2 separate regions of the Homo sapiens genome follow, and region 2 is linked to region 1. The links are contacts of gene promoters, found by promoter capture Hi-C in human tissues and cell types (Jung and others, 2019). All regions are on one chromosome and are shown on one strand. Each heading gives the region's core, a stretch centred on a gene start or on the middle of the fragment in contact. The rest is flanking DNA. Distances are from core to core; before and after follow the strand shown. Region 1 holds the start of TSHZ1 (teashirt zinc finger homeobox 1). Region 2 overlaps LOC105372210 (a long non-coding RNA gene).

Evidence for each region. The method cuts DNA at HindIII sites, captures the fragments that hold promoters and counts their contacts. A contact is called where the count stands out against the background at its distance.
Region 2: a contact is called between a fragment that was not itself captured here and the fragment with the promoter of TSHZ1 in region 1, in 1 of the 25 tissues and cell types used here (dorsolateral prefrontal cortex).

Annotation. Positions count from the first base shown.
Region 1 is chr18:75,208,980-75,212,471 of GRCh38, forward strand. TSHZ1 (teashirt zinc finger homeobox 1) reads left to right here and starts at 1,818. Exons shown (of 2, transcript NM_001308210.2): 1 at 1,818-2,937. The coding sequence starts at 2,898. It overlaps PTGR3 (prostaglandin reductase 3), which reads right to left and starts at 160. Exons shown (of 2, transcript NM_175907.6): 1 at 1-160. The coding sequence starts at 79. RefSeq lists enhancers at 1-595, 1,635-1,929 and silencers at 1-874, 2,812-3,131. The HindIII fragment of the contact is 23,508 bases long and covers 1-3,492 here.
Region 2 is chr18:76,236,783-76,240,274 of GRCh38, forward strand. All of the region lies in intron 1 of LOC105372210 (a long non-coding RNA gene), which reads right to left. The region is part of intron 1 of LOC105372209 (a long non-coding RNA gene); the gene reads left to right. Among named protein-coding and RNA genes, the nearest start is that of LINC01893, 29 kb to the left of the region's middle. The HindIII fragment of the contact is 3,834 bases long and covers 1-3,453 here.

The DNA of each region.
Region 1 (3,492 bases), core at 568-3,067:
AGCCCTGGAAGTCCAGGAAGTGGCGGGCGTACGACATGTCCACGATGGCCCGGGCCCCGGTGGGCACCAGCCGCAGCATGGCCTGCGCCTCCGCCCGCTCTCTGCGCCGACGCTGGCCGGGGTCGGCCCCCGCCCGGGCCGCTCGGCTCGGCTGTGCTCTGCTCGGCTAGGGCGGGCGGGTCCGCCCCTCCTCCGGCCGGCGCCCTCCCCCTGGCTCCCCCCTTCCCCGCGTCGCCCGCTCCCGCTCCCCCCGCCTCCCCGGCGCCGGCGCAGCCCCCGCGAACCCGGGCGCACCACCCCGGGTGTCCCGGCCTGGGGACCGCTGCCGCCCCGGCCGCTGCTCCTTTAATCTTTTTGTTTTGGTTTGAATCTGCTCGGCGCAGACTGGCCAAGGATCCTCTCCGCCCTCCCCCTTCCTCCTGGCGCGGGAGAGGCACCGGATATCCCCACCCTCCCCGAGCTCTAAAAGCCGGATTTGACTCCTCTCGGGCAAGGGTGGCGGGGGGGACGGCGGGCAAGGGGGGACGGGGGACTCGCGCGTCCCGCGGTCGTCTGCGGCCCCGAGCCGGCGGCAGCCCCGGGCGTCCCCGGAGCTGCGCGGCGGCCGGCGCAGGCGCCTCCCCTTCCCGTGCGAAGCGTTCACTTCCTTGCAAGGTGGTACGAATCAACCCCGAGCGCGGCCCGGGCGGCGGGGCACGACCGGGGACCCCGGGCAGGGCGGGGAGCCCCTGCCGCCGCTGCCGCACGCGCACCCGTACCGACCGCGGGGCGGGGAAATGTCCAGTGCCTCCCGCTCCCCAGGCTGGTGGCTTCCTGTCCCCGGAACCCCTTGCGCGTGCTTTCTGTCCACGGTCTGTCCCATGCAAGTTGCAGGAACTAAGCCATTTTATTTATTTTGGCCTAGATTTCATGTTTTTCCATGAATGTTTTAAGTAGATCTACAAGACTGTTACAGGTTTCCCATTGGGAGAGAACACACATATAGAAAACCAGAAGGCCAAATTCCCAGAGCACAGACACATTTTAAAGTTCTACGTGGGGATGCCGAGGGACTTAACTGAATTGGAGACGTTGCACTGCTGTGTGAGGACCTCATTTTCGAACCCAGCTAGAAAGATCTGTCGTTCCATCGTGTCCGTTTTCTCCCTACTGGCGTGCATGGACCAAATGTCAATTCACTTTTTATAGAGGGGCCAAATTAAATATTTCCACACTTTTCTGTGATGAACTAAGTCCATCTTTACATTTTTATTTAAATTGTAAAATTTAATTTTAAAAATATCTTGCTTTTCAGTTACCCACGAATTACCAAAATATAAAAGCTACTCTGGGCTCCTCCCCAGCCAAATCTAACCCCCCAACCTGAGATTGCAAAAGCGACACAGATATTTTTCCCCCCAAATGTAGGACATGCTTCACCCAAGGGTAGTTTGGATGCACGTGGTTGCGTGTGTATGAATGTGCAAGTGTGTGTATGTGTATGTGTGTGTGTTGGGGGGGAACTAACAGGTTTAAAAATCTGCAGGAACTAATGTCTACTTAACTTAGAGCATATGGGTTTTACCCGGTATCAGCCAGTGGGTTACAATAACAACACTGAATGAATTCCTCCAATGTACAATCTTTTATGTTATGCTGTATTAAGATTTCTTTTTTTTGTCATATTGTTTAGCTCCGAAAAAAAGAAAACAAAGCAATTAAAAAGATTGACAGGTATGGTTTGTGAGAGACCTATTTGTAATTGTCAGGGTGACGTTGGCGAGAGGAGGAGGAGTAAAAACTGAAGCAGGAAAAGCAGCTCGATGTGTCTGTCTATCAGTTGAGACTGTCTGAAAGCTCTGCGATCCGAATGTGTGTTATATTTCACTGAAAAGAGGAGAGAGCGAGAGTGCATCTCCCTCTCTCCCAGGAGTTTGAGGGGGGGGGGGACAGTCCACGCTCATCTCGCCCACCCAGTGAATGTCTGCTCTTCACCCCCTTTGCACACACTCTCCGGGTTGTTGTTGCCTTTTTTTTTTCTTGGAGGGGGGGGTGCTTTTTGTGTATTTTTCAAATTTTTTTCTGTTGGAAGATCAAGACCGGCCAAAAATCCATGATCAAAATGTGTTTGCATTAGATTTCGCATTGGAAGAAGCGGCGATCCTGGCGGCCAAGCCCCCCGGGTGGAAGCGCGGGGCACCAAGTGGCGCTCCGGCGGGGTGACACTGTTTGATCTGTGACTGTTTGGAAGGTGGAGCAGCGCCTGACATCTCCCCCCGGCGCATGTATGTACGGGGGCTTCACTCCTCTGTCTTGTTTGCTTTCTTCCTCTTAGACTAAGTGCGGGGAGGAAAAGGACAGCCTGCATCGGCCTCGCTGGCGCACAATGAGAAAGCTGCGACCCGCGCACTAAAAACACTCGCCGCGACCCCCAAACAGCGAGGAGAGAGGGGGAGAGAAAGTTGCGCTCGGCGACTCTCGGCTCGCGGAAGAAGGCGCAGGGGAGCGCCCGGAGCGGCGCGCCGGGAGGAGCGCCCGCCCAGCAGCAGCGCGGCGGCGGGGAGGCGGCAGCATGGAGCGCGGGCCGCGGGCCGGCCCGCCGAGCGCCCGCTGCTGCGCCCGCGGCCCGCGCCGGGGATGACTCCGGGCTCGGCGCCCAGGCCCCGCGCGCTCCGCCCGCAGCCCGGCGCCGGGAAGCGGGCCGCGCGGCCGCCGCCGCCGCCTCCTGAGCGGCCCCGGGCGCGGCGGTCCATGCGAGCGGCTCCCCGCGGTCCGCGGCGCGCCCGGAGCCCGGAGCCCGCGGGGACGAGGCCAAAGTTGGGCGCGCCGCGGAGTTGCGCCCGCGCCCGGGGCCCCGCGTCCCCGCGCCCCGCGAACTCCGGCGGCGGCTGAGGCGACGGCTGCGGCGGCCGAGCAGCATGCCGAGGAGGAAGCAGCAGGCCCCCCGGCGCTCGGCAGGTAACGGGCGCGCGGCCCGCGCCGCGGGGAGTGGGCGCCGGGAGGAGCAGGAGGAGGGGGCTTCGCGGGCCGAGGTGCGGGACGTGGGCCGCGGGCCGCCCCAAGCTGGGGAGGGGAGGCCCAGCCTGCGCTGGCCACAGTCGTCTGGAGGCTGCGGTCGCCGTCCTCCCCCACACCCCCAACCTGGGCCGGCGCGTGGAGCAGAGAAAGTTCGCGGTGCTTCTCTGCGCTGCGGGAAGCCCGGATGGCCGGGGGAGGCCGGGGGCCGCGGGACGGCGGGTGCTTCTGGCTACCTCAGGAGGGGGCGTGCGCTGAGGGGAAGTAGTTGCTCCTTGGCTGCCGGAGCGCACTGGAAAAGTCCTCCAAAGGCGGGGAGGCTGAACCTGACACTTGAAAACAAGGTCACCAGGCTGGGACGCAAAGAATGTGTTCAGAAGATTTCTCTGGAAAACAGCAGCCTTTAATGTCCTGTGCAAGAGGCCCCCCGCCCCCACTTTTTTTTTATTACCTCTAAAGATGTCTTTTGATCAGGCCAGCACAAGGCAGTGATAGTGC
Region 2 (3,492 bases), core at 287-2,786, 1.0 Mb after region 1:
AACTTCAAAAGACTCTAAAAGTTGAAGAGAAGAAAACAGACCACCAGCAGGACCTTAGAACCCCAGGAAACACACAGTGGTGGTTTTTGTTGGTGGTGGTGATTTATTTATTTGGTTTTTGCCTCATATATACTAGACTTGTTACTAGAGAAGCCAGAAACCCAGAAATATCCATGGGCACACAGAAAGAAACAGAGAGGAAAGCTTGTTCCCCATAGACAAAGACCAGAGGAGGCACTGCTTAATAAGAGTGAAAACTCTTAAGTGAAACTCATTTTATTCCAGCCAAATACCACAAAAATCCGCAGCCCACTCCCACCCCTGCCAGCACACGGAAAGTTTGGACTTCCATCATGACAGAGCCATAATGAGGCACCCAAACCCTGTTCCATGATGTTGCCTAGGAAAGCCAAATGGTGAGTCTGTACTTCCAGCTCACCCACGGTAACAAAGAAACCTTCCCCTCCCCACAGTCATGGTATCAGAAGTGACCTCCTGGACAGTCAGGATTTTTATCACTAAACAATAGGAACAAAACCATCCCACCATAATGTCAGTGAAGGCCATATAGCATGCAGACACAAGCACACTGTCCCTCCCAGCCAGGTTAGGTATCAGCAAGACCTAGTGGGGAGTTTGAGCTCCCAACCACATTTAGCACTAATGAGATGCCTTTACCTCTTCCTCTATCAACAGAGACCAAGTGGGGAACTTGGACTTCCACCCTACCTGGTTGTAATGAGTGGCATCCCCACCCTTCCTTCCTGTGCCATAGAAGTGTCAGAGAAGGTCTGCTAAAATAGGAGACTTAAGTGGAATCCAGAGACTCATAACATACTACACAAATGCTTAGGTTGTAACCAATACTTATTCATCATAGGAAAACCAAGAATATCTCAATTTCAATAAGAAAATACAATCAATAGACACCAATACTGAGATGGTACAGACATTAGAATTACCTGTGAAAGATTTTGAAGTAGTCATCCTAATAATGCTTCAATGAGCATGTACATTTTGAAAAAAATTAAGAAAGTCTCAGCAAAACAAGAGAACATATACAGAAGGACTAAACGAAAACTGTAGAACTGAAGAAAACAACTAAAATTTTAAAACTGAATGGATAGACTCAACAGCAAAATGTAAGGGACAGAGGAAAGAATCAGTGAACTGGAATATAAAACAATAGAAATTATTCCACTGGAACAACAGAGAAAAAGCAGCCTGAAAAACAAAGAGCCTGTTGCTATCACTAAATAGCTAATATTCATGGCGCCAGAGTCTGGGAAGGAGAGGAGAGAGAAGGTAGAGTTTACTCGATAAGATAATAACTGAAAAATATCCCAAAGTTGCACAGACATAAACCTATGGATTCAAGAAGCAGAGAAAATTCCCAAACAAGACAAACCCAATGAAATCCATGAGAAGATATATCATAGTCAAAATCTGAAAACTAGAGTCAAAAAAAAAAGCAGCAGGAGTGAAATGACATCTTACATAAAGGGGAAAAACAATTGAAAAGATAGCAGATTTCTGATAAGAAACCATGTAGTCCAGAAGAAATTGCTATGACATTTTTCAGGTTCTGAAAGAAAAGAACTGTCAACTCATAATTCTATATCCAGGAATGATGGAGAAACTAAATACTTTCAGATGAAAAATAGCTAAAAGAATTTGTTGCCAACAGATCTCTCCCAAGAAAATGTCTATAGGAAGTTCTTTTTCTTTTTTTTTTTTTTTTTTTTTTTTTTTTTTTTTTTTTGAGACGGAGTCTCACTCTGTCGCCCAGGCTGGAGTGCAGTGGCGCGATCTTGGCTCGCTGCAAGCTCCGCCTCCTGGGTTCACGCCATTCTCCTGGCTCAGACTCCCGAGTATCTGGGACCACAGGCACCCGCCACCGCGCCTGGCTAATTTTTAGTAGAGACGGGGTTTCACCGTGGTCTCGTTCTCCTAACCTCGTGATCCGCCCGCCTCGGCCTCCCTAAGTGCTGGGATTACAGGCGTGAGCCACTAAGCCCGGCAGGAAGTTCTTTAAACAGTATACAATGTACAGTTCACTCAAACTGGTAAAATGACATCACCCGTAGACTTTAAGTTATGTATATAATGTAATGCCTAGAGGAACCACTAAAGAAGGCATGCAAAGAAATCACTAAAAAACTATAAATAAATAGAAATGGAATTCTAAAGAGTTTTCAAGTTACCCATGGAAAAGTAGAGAGAAGACAACAGAGAAACAAAACCAAGAGAGACAAACAAAAAGTAAAATGACAGACATATGCCCTAACACATAAGTGATTATATTAACTGTAAGTGGTCTAAGTATACCAAGTAAGACTGAGATTTTCTACCTTTTATGACATTATGAATGGACCTGGACAACACTATGCTAACTGAAATAAGCCACATAAAGAAAGACAAGTACTACATGACCTCACTTATATGTGAAATCTAAAATAGTCATACTTATAGAAACATAGAATACAGTGATGACTTCCAGGGGCTAGAAGGAGGAGGAAATGGGCAGGTGATGGTCAAAGGACACAAAGTTTCAGTTATGCAGGATAAATAAGTTCTGAAAGTCTACTATATAGCATAATACCTATAGCTAGCAATACTGTATTGTATACTTAAAATTTGCTTTAAAAATTATAATGATAATAAAAGGGGCATGAAGACATTTTGGGGGGTGATGGATATGTTTATAGCCCTGACAGTGATGATAGTTTCACAGGTGTGTATTTATCCCCAAACTCACCATGTTGTACACATAAAATATGTAAGCTTTTTACATGTCAATCATACCTTAATAAAGTTACTTTAACAAAAATGACAGAGATTTCCAGAGTAGGCTAAAATACATGGCCCAACCATATGGTGTCAACAATGAATTCACATTTAGTAAAACAGTGTAAGCAGGATGAAAGTAAAAGGAAAGATATGCCATCCAAACATCAATCAAAAGGAATCAGGAAGTGGCTATATTCATATCACATAAAGTAGATTTCAGAATAAAGAGAATTACTAGGGACAGAAAGGGACACCACCAGTAAATATGTAATGATATACTAATGTATACTGTGTAATATACTGATAATTTTCCTGGTAATCACATATATGTGTGTAATGTGCATTATGTGTGTATATATATATGTTATATATGTATACACACACATATGTATATATGTATACACACACATATGTATATATGTATACACACACATATGTATATATGTATACACACACATATGTATATATGTATACACACACATATGTATATATGTATACACACATATGTATATATGTATACACACATATGTATATATGTATACACACATATGTATATATGTATACACACACATATGTATATATGTATACACACACATATGTATATATGTATACACACACATATGTATATATGTATACACACACATATGTATATATGTATACACACACATATGTATATATGTATACACACACATATGTATATAT